Linked DNA regions of Homo sapiens: regions 1 and 2 are each linked to region 3. Evidence: promoter capture Hi-C in human tissues and cell types (Jung and others, 2019). All regions are on one chromosome and are shown on one strand. Each heading gives the region's core, a stretch centred on a gene start or on the middle of the fragment in contact. The rest is flanking DNA. Distances are from core to core; before and after follow the strand shown.

Region 1 (3,054 bases), core at 52-2,551, 870 kb after region 3:
ATTGGCACATCCACGTAGACCCCTGTTTCAGGACACTTTTGTGAGATAGTACCAGAATTTGTACTTGACCAGGGGCCTAGGTGGCAGTTTAAAATTTGATCTTAAATTTCTAAATACATTCTATTTCACCCTATTTTGGGTATTAATATGATTTAGAGACCAGAAAATGGAGGAGAATTAAATGGGAATGGAGGTGTCACACTGAGTGCAAAACTCCCCTCTAATGTAAGCAGAAGCAGTTGCTGTGATTATGTGGACAAGTGCTTAGGCCATTTCCTTGGCTCTTGCAGGCAGGTAAGATAGGTGGGTCCCAGTGTGGGTGGCTGACACCGGTAGTCTCAGCACTTTAGGAGGCCAAGGCAGGAGGATTACTTGAGCCCAGGAGTTGGAGACCAGCCTGGGCGACAGAATGAGACAGCATCTCTACACAAAATAAAAAATTAACCCAGCATGGTGATCACTTCATTGCACTCCAGCGTGGGTGACAGAGTGAGACCCTGTCTCAAGAAAAAAAAAAAGGTAGGTGGGCAACAATTTGGAAGAATTGCACAAATATTTATGGATGCATTGGCCTTATAAAATTTCAACGTGTCATGGTTGTTGATGTTGCAATAAATGCTATTTCTGAGGAGCATCTTTTTGTCCTTAATTTCTGGGCTCTGTAATACCAGCCAAACCTAGATATATGTCAAGATCATTTAAAGCTTTAATTAAAGGCTGAATAGCATTTAAAAGGCTATGTTGTATATTTGAGTATGTAAATATGTTCCTAATGTTGCTAATAGAGTTGTATACTTAAACTGCGTATACACAATCAGAGGGAAATTCACTGAAGTAACATAATAAAAGGTGAACCAATTGCTATGATTTAAAAATAAAAACTCATTAGAGAATGTACTATTCATCTAATTCAGAAAAGGACAAAACAGATAATAGATAAAAATTAAAGATCTGTCACAAAAGTCATAGAAGTCATTCATTTAAAGTATTTTTATAATGCAAGTGTTTCTTTAGAAAATAATGGAGGCTAGGAGGAAGCCACATGGTTTAACGTGTCTCTGCTTTCGTTTCTAACACTTGTGTCTGATGTCATGCAATGCAAAGTTTAGGAAAAAAAGCCTGAAGAAACCTAACTGCTCTGTTTCTGCATGCATAATACATGATAATGAATAATGCAAATATGAACTTTTATTTCTCTGAATTTTGATGGACACAGGGCCTAAAATGTTCTTCAATTTATAGCTACAACTGAAAACAGCAATGAATTGAGGGTAGAATAAGCTATAATACATTTAACTAGAAAATAGTTAAAGAACTTGAAACATTTTAATTAAGTAAGAATGTTAATTTTATCAACTGTATTATTTCATTTTAAGTCCTTGGGGTTAATCCCTTTTGGTAATGTCAGTGTATTTTATGTTTTTAATGTTGAAACTAAGTGTTGAGCTTACAGGAATAGGGTGAGAATAAACTATGTCTATAGATCACACCAAATACTTAAATCTTAAGTTATTTTTAAAGCCTACATTTTTAAGAAAAATCTTAATATTTTAATTGTTTGAAATATGATTGAAAAGGGAACTTTTCGATTAAGCATAAATACAGAAATGTACACGAATTATTGAGTACAACTGAATACATTTTTACAAAGTTAACACATCTTTGTAAACAATTATCAACATCCCAGAACCCCCCTTTATGTTTTTTTACCAGTTACCAAAATATAAGTTTTAAACTGTAAACATACAGATTATTAGGTTAAAATGTGATTTTTTTTCTTTTTTTTTTTTTTATCCACACAACATATAGATCATTTATTTTCCTTCTAGTCCTGGGTTCAGTACATAGATGGCTTCTCTTCACCCTTTGGGTGGACAGTTTTCTCCAAGTTGCTGCTGATGATATGATAAAGCTCAGCATAGAAGGCCCTCAGGTCCAGCACCATGGCCCTGAGCTCCGCATAGGCTGCCTCATCTCGCTCATGCACCAAGACCCGGTAATCCATTACATGAGTCTCCTTGGAGGCCTTGGCCACTGCATCCCCACGTTCTGAGAAATACTTGGAAATGGTTGTCTGGAAAGCTTCCACTTTGGTCTTGATGGCATTCACCCTCTCCAACACCTTATCCTGGATTGCTACCCCAAAATCATTTCCATCTTCAATCTTGTTAAGCCAGAAGTCTGGACTCTTAAAGAGAAATGCATTCTGGTGATTACATGGATCCAACACCTGATCCCTAAAATGTGAATTTTTAACTTGTCGTCGATCAGTATTGAAAAATAAATTTAAGACTAAATCCTGTGTCTTAGTCTGCTCTGCTCAGCCTACAATAAAAAAACACCACAGACCAGGTGGGTTAAACAACAGACAAAATTTATTTCTCACAGTTTAAAGGATGAAAAGTCCGAGATCAAGGTGCCAGCAAGGTAGGTTTTATTCTGCTGACTCTTCTCTTCGACTGCGGAAAGCTGCCATCTTGCTGTGTGCTTACGTGACCCCTTTTTTGCACATGCACCTGGGAAAGGAATGTCTAGCTCTCTGATATTCTACTCATAAGGACACTAATCCAATCATGAGAGCCACAGCCTCATCACCTCATGTAACACTAATTACTTCTCCAAAGCCCCATCTCCAGCTTCTATCACATAGGGAATTAGGGCTTCAGAATATATGTTTTGGTGGGGACAGAAACATTCAGTCCTTAACACCCTATCAGAGGAATACTTACAGATGAAGATTAGAAAAAATAATAGAAATTAGAAATCAATTTTCCATGCCTACTCACTTATGACCTAGCCATCTATGATAGACTTGGTAAGAAAAAAATGTGTGGTATCAAGGCAGGAAATATGAGAAATTTGCTATTTACTTGAAGGGTTTAATTTTGCCTATAAGCAAATAAAAAGTACTCTTACCCCTTTCCATCAAAGATACAAAACAAAAACAACCTTTTAGAAATGATTATGGCATTTAAGTTAACTCAATTTTATTTTCGGAAATAAAGCGTACATTTTAAAACCAAGATGACACTTGATCATCAAAGTTGCTGTAGG
Region 2 (2,982 bases), core at 446-2,945, 660 kb after region 3:
CTTTCCTTTCACCCTTACCACCTTGGAATTGTACCGCCTAATAAAATCTTCGCACTTAAACTTGGCCTCAGGCTCTGTTCATGTGAATCAATTTAGCAGCCTTTGGGCTTTAGATCTGTGCTTTTCTGAAAATTTGGCAACCACAACACAAAATTAGGATTTTTGTTTCCTCTGGGCTCTGGTTTACTGTCCCATTAAAGTGCTTCTGTAAAAGGCAACCCAATTGAGACCAATGCTGAATATATAAATTTTTATAGGTATGCCCCTGTTTGAAGTTGCTAGAGACAGTAAAAGTTTGGGCTTCCATTTATTGGTTCCTAGTGGTGTTTATTCTCAAGAGTAAATTCCTAGAGCATTAGCACTTAAATGCTTTAAAAATTTGGAAACTTAAACCTGAGATGCATGCAAATGCAAAACAAAATGCTTTCAAATAATGATCATAAAGCTGTTAGTCTGGGGAGGTCTACTTATGTTTTTGGTCATGTTCTAGCTTTCCTAAAGACATCAGGGGAGGATATGTTAAAGCCTTTTTAAGTGATTTCTGGTTCATAGTGCTTTGCAAAACAATTTTTCTTGACATTATTTTCTATATTAAATACTTCAGTAAGTGTTTTTAATGATAATGGCCACTGGCTTTGTGGCCTACTGTTTATTGCAATTTTGTCGGGCCTTATTCTAGGCTTCCCTTTCACCTGGGCTTCCCAACTATCTGTAACTTGATCAACAGTAATTTGGGATGGGAATGGCCAGGGTCATATGTTAAATAGGGCAGTTCCACTTTTCTGACCACAAAATCCTCCCCTTCCTGACCACTTAAAAACTGTTACATAATCTACAAACACATGGCTCTAATAAGTTCTACTACATACCTTGCCAAAGGTCACACCTGCAATCTACCTTTCTATTGGCACAATACATTTTATTAGAGAATATTTTTATCGCTTATAATTGTGGCCTATCAGAGCACTTAATTATTTTTAATAACACATTCTGCCTTCATCCACATCATCATAGTGAATTGGTTTTTGCAAGGAAAACTTGGTCATCCTAGCATGTGAACAGTTTTTAATCTTTTTTTGAAAAATGTTTCATCTGAGATTAATTTCTGTTGGGAGCAAAAATGAAGCCAGGCTGTACACATGATGTGTTTAAATACATTTTCACAAAAAGAAAAATATTAAGAATATCTTGGGTCATAGACATGCAGTATCAGAAGGCATCCCAATAAACAAAAGTGAGAGCTCCTCTTTAATTCCTAGCACTTGATTATTTCTAAATATATAAGGGCAGATAATGTTCAGCAAACGTGCAGGTTTTACAAATTGGCTCCTTCAGAGTAGGTCATAAGCTTGCTGCAATTGTGTTCCCATTACTCAAACATTTTTAGAATTCTTTAGAAATTTGCCACAAGAGTCTGAGTCACATTCTTTTAAATGACATCATCAGTGATAGCAAATCTTCCTCCTCGGAGAGCAGATTTTTAGAAATACTCAAGTCATTTGAAACCACACTGAGTTTAGTAACATCATTTGGCAGGGAAAAATTGAACTAGAAAGAGTAAAAATAAGTGAACTGATTAATGGTTTTTTAAAAATTAAACTCCAAGAAATGGAGGATTAGGGAAACTTTGGAGCAGAAATTAATGATTAGAAACAATGTTTTTGATCAACTCCAAAGGTAATTCTTTGGAAAAAGATCAAGAAAATGGAGAAATCGCTGATGAATCTATTTAAAAAAAAAAAAAAGAAAAGAAAATATAAAGGAGAAAGGAGATATAACAGATATGGATACTTTTTTTTTTTTTTTGAGACAATCTTGCTCTGTTGCCCAGGCTGGAGTGCAGTGGTGCAATCTCAGCTCACTACAAGCTCCACCTCCCAGGTTCACGCCATTCTCCTGCCTCAGCCTCCCAAGTAGCTGGGACTATAGGCGCCCGCCACCACACCCGGCTAATTTTTTGTATTTTTTAGTAGAGGCGGGGTTTCACTGCGTTAGCCAGGATGATCCTGATCTTCTGACCTCCTGATCTGCCATGGAGACTTTTTATAAATTATATGAGACTGCTATGTGAAATTAGCTATGTGCTAAACATTTTTTTCTGGAAAACCATAAATCACCCAAATTGAATCTAGGAGTAGAAAAACTAAGTAGATCAAAGCTAGGGGAGAAATTTTAAAACGCCTAAAGACCAAGAGAGGCTTTAGGCAAATTCTTGCAAATTTTGAAAGACATAAAATCCCCTTTCTAAATGAATAAAGACACTAAAATTTAAGTTTTTTGTGAGTGAAACCACTTTTATTATAAAACCTATCAAAAATGGTATACGCCAAGCATGATGGCTCACACCTGTAATCCCAGCACTTTGGGAAACTAAGGGGGGAAGATCGCTTGAGCCCAGGAGTTCCAAGAGACCCTATCTATACAAAGAGTAAAAAATTATCTGGGCCTGGCTGGTGGTAGGCTCCTGCAGTCCTAACTACTCGGAAAGATGAAGTGGGAGGATCATATGAGCTTGATAGGTCAAGGCTGCAGTGAGCCATGATCTCATCACTGTACTCCAGCCTGGGTAACAGAGCAAGACCCCGTCTCAAAAAAAAGAAAAAGAAAGGGCACTCAAAAAATAAAAGTTCACATAAGAAACTCAATGCCAGAATTCCCCCCAAAATACCAAAAATGCCAGCAAATTAAATTCAATAAAGTCAGTCATTTTAAACAATCAGGTAGATTTTATCCTAGAAATGCCAGGATATTTCAATACCAGGAAAATAGTTTATATAAAAATACATTTAGATTATATAAGAATAAAAACCTTATTATCTCGATAAGTGATAAAAATCTAGCACCTATTCCCAATTAAAACAACTATATTTTTTAAAAACTTTTAGTAAATGTTAAACTGATAGCCAACATCGTATCTTTTAATAAGATTTTATAAAAATAATAATGGTACTGGTAAGACAGCCAAATTAACTTTACACCTTC
Region 3 (3,326 bases), core at 261-2,760:
CATATATCTCTTTGTTCTTCTTTTGAACTATTTCCTTCGAATAGATTCCCAGGAGGGGTGTCTGATAAGGTACACAGCTCCTGTTACCTACTGGTGGCTGGCCAAATTTTATTGTTGCTGGAGAACTTCAGATCCCAGGGCAATTCATTAGGCTGCTTCTGACAGCAGCAATTACAGCCATGAAGTAGTTACCGCTAAAACCACCATCCTTTTTCAAGGGGTTATAGAGAGCTCGTCGGTAACTGTGACCTGTTTCTATCACCTGTGGTTCTCAGCAATACAATGCTTGGCACACAGTAGGCTCACAGCAAATGTCATCAGACTGACTAGAGACACCAGTGATTAGAAAGGCCATAGCTGGAAGTCAAGTTGGATGAGCTAACATTCCACAACGCCAACGCTTTTATTTAGTTACGTATTCTTTCAATATTGCATTTCGAAAACTTCAGGGGCTAAAAAGAGCTCAGAATGAGTTGGTACATTTTCATCAGTTGGGTATCTCTGAATGTCTTCAATGAACACATATAAAATTGGATTCAGAGTGGGTCAGTCTGGCAACCGCCCAGGAAGCCAATCCCCTGGGGCACTAAGTTACCCTGAAATAGAACTGAAATACAGGGGTAGCTGGCACAGGTCTCCCGAGGTGACTCCTTCCTGCTTGGTGAAATGTGCAGGTACCCAGATCCAAGAGAGGATCCAAAAGTATTTAGCAGAAACACACACACACACACACACAGAGAGAGAGAGAGACACACACACACAGGCTCGCCCTGGTCTCTGTCTCAGTCATTAACAATGGCTGTCACCTTAAAGAAGGAACAAATGATCAACCCAGTCTCCCTGGCTCTTAGACACATTTATGGGAAGTCAGCAGGGCAGGAAACACTCACAGGAACCCCAAGTCTGAACTGCCTGCTTCTCAGATGCTGGAAGGAAGCCCGCGGAACTACGAAGAGGGCTGCAATGCAAAATACTAGGGGCCTTCGCAGGGGCGCGCGGGCCGGGCTGCTACAGCCCAGGCCCCGGGCCTTCGCCTGGAGTCCCCGATAGGGGTCAGAGGCCCCCGAGCCCCACTTATGCCCCCACTCCCCGAGCCAAGAAAAAAAAAATTATGCGCACATTTAGGGGGATCATTTGTTCATTTCCTCGGATTCTCACAGGGGTCAGTCCCCACCCTGCCGCCACCAAGTTTACAATCCACTGTCCCAGATCCTCGGGCTGGGGGGGGGGAGGGGCGCGCCGAGGAGGGCTTAGTAGGAGGGCAGCGCCCGGCCTGGACCGGCCCTAGGCTCCCGGGTGCAGCCGGTGAAATGAAGCCGAAAGCCGTAGGCGGCGGCGGGGCCTGCGGGACCCGCGTCCTACCTGCCTCCCCCAGTCCCGGCCCGGTGCCGGGCCCGCCGCCGCCCGCTTGGCCCCGCACCGCCCGCCGAGGCGCAGTTCCGAGGGTCAGGCCCCGGAGCAACCAGAGGAGCCGCGCCATGACGCCCGCTCCGGCGCCGCTCCGCCCTCTGCCCTCTGCCCGTCTCTGCCCCTGCTCCCATCCCACCCCTCCCCCATTCTCTCCCGTCCGCCTGCGCTAGTCGGCCTCCCTCCCCACGCTCCGCCCACACCGCCAGTCCCCTCGTCTCCCTCCCCCTCTTCTCCCTCCCCTGCCCCTCCCTCCTTCCCTCCTTCCCACCTGCTCCTCCCACTATGTGCCCTGGGCCCTCCCAGGTCCCCGCCCCTCTTTCCTCCCACTCTGCCTCTCTCTCCCCCTCCCTCTTCCTCTCCTTTTCCCCTTGCCTTTCCTCCCCCTTCCTCTCCCCCTTCCTCTCTCCCTTCCCTTCCATGAGACCCTCCCCAACCCATCTCTGCATCTCCCAGCTCCTCCCACTCCTGCTCCTCCCTCGCCCTGCCCCCCTCCACCTATCCCAACTCCACTCATCCGCAGCCCAAACACTGATCTGTTTTAGTTTGCATTTTCTAGAGTCGTCCATAAATGGAATCATCCCATATGTACTTGATTTTGTCTGGCTTCTTTCACTCAACATAGTTACTTTGACATGCCTGCGTGTTTTTGCATGGAACAATCATTCATTGCTTCCTGAGCAGTATTCCATTTATGGATATACCACCGTGTGTTTAGTCAGCACTTGATTTAGCCTGCTTTCAATTTTTCCTGATTAGAACTACAGCTGCTAGGAACATCCCTGTGCAAATCTTTGTACAGACATATACGGTTTTTCCTCTCTGGGGTAAATACCTGGAAGTGGAATGCCCAGGTCGTAAGGTAGGTGTAACCATTTAAGAAACTACTATACTGTTTTCCCAAGTGGTTTTTTTCTTTACCTTCCCACTAGCAGTCTATGCGAGTTCCAGTTGTTCTTCATCCTTGCCAACACTTGAAAGTCCAGAGATTTTAACTGTAGATGTTCCGGTTCTGTGTAGTGGTAGCTCATTGTGGCTTTATTATGCATTCTCTAATCGTTAATGATGTTAAGCATCTTTTCATGTGCGTATTTGCAGCGAGTGTATTTTCCTTGGTGAAGTGTCCGTTCAGATCTTTTGCCCATTTAATGTTGAGTTGTTTCATTATTGAGCTTAGAACACTTTATATATTTTGGATGCAAATCTTTTATCAAACATATGCTTTACAAAGATTTTTTTTCCCAGTCTCTTGTTTGTCTTTTCTGTCTCCTAATATTGTCTTGGGAAGAGCAGTTTTTAATTTTGATGAAGCCCAATTTATCAATTTGTTAATGGATTGTTCTTTTTTTGGTATCATATTTAAGAAATCTTTGCCTAATCCAAGATCACAAAGATTCTCTCCTATGTTTTGTTCTAAAATTTTTATAGTTCTAGGTTTTACATTTAGGTCTCTGACCGATTTAGAATTTTTATATATGGCCAAAATTTTTGTTTTGTTTTGTTTATCTGTTTTGTTTTTTGCATATCTATATCCAGTTGTTCCAGCACCATTTTTATTGATTGATTGATTGATTGATTGAGACAGAGTCTCTGTCGGCCAGGCTGGAGTGCAGTGGCACGATCTTGGCTCACTGCAACTTCCATCTTCCAGGCTCAAGCAATTCTTCTGCCTCAGCCTCCTGAGTAGCTGGGATTACAGGCGTGTGCCACCACGTCTGGCTAATTTTTGTATTTTTAGTAGAGACGGGGTTTCACCATGTTGGCCAGTCTGGTCTTGAACTCCTGATCTCAGGTAATCTGCCTGCCTCGGCCTCCCAAAGTGCTGGGATTACAGGCGTGAGCCACCAGGCCTGGCTCCTAGCACCAATTTTTAAAAGACTACTCTTTCTCCACTGAACTGTTTTTGAATCTGTCAAAAA

Evidence for each region. The method cuts DNA at HindIII sites, captures the fragments that hold promoters and counts their contacts. A contact is called where the count stands out against the background at its distance.
Region 1: a fragment that was not itself captured here is called in contact with the fragment with the promoter of MSRB2 in region 3 in 1 of the 25 tissues and cell types used here (dorsolateral prefrontal cortex).
Region 2: a fragment that was not itself captured here is called in contact with the fragment with the promoter of MSRB2 in region 3 in 1 of the 25 tissues and cell types used here (lymphoblastoid cells).

The regions. Positions count from the first base shown.
Region 1 is chr10:22,224,811-22,227,864 of GRCh38, reverse strand. It overlaps the pseudogene PSME2P6. Among named protein-coding and RNA genes, the nearest start is that of TRN-GTT2-3, 3.2 kb to the left of the region's middle. The HindIII fragment of the contact is 3,920 bases long and covers 1-3,054 here.
Region 2 is chr10:22,432,508-22,435,489 of GRCh38, reverse strand. LINC03027 (long intergenic non-protein coding RNA 3027) reads left to right here. Exons shown (of 1, transcript NR_036533.1): 1 at 1-65. Among named protein-coding and RNA genes, the nearest start is that of LINC03027, 3.9 kb to the left of the region's middle. The HindIII fragment of the contact is 7,336 bases long and covers 1-2,982 here.
Region 3 is chr10:23,093,763-23,097,088 of GRCh38, reverse strand. MSRB2 (methionine sulfoxide reductase B2) reads right to left here and starts at 1,510. Exons shown (of 5, transcript NM_012228.4): 1 at 1,363-1,510. The coding sequence starts at 1,480. It overlaps LOC107984215 (a long non-coding RNA gene), which reads left to right and starts at 1,810. Exons shown (of 3, transcript XR_001747394.2): 1 at 1,810-2,269. RefSeq lists a silencer at 1,233-1,702. The HindIII fragment of the contact is 14,874 bases long and covers 1-3,326 here.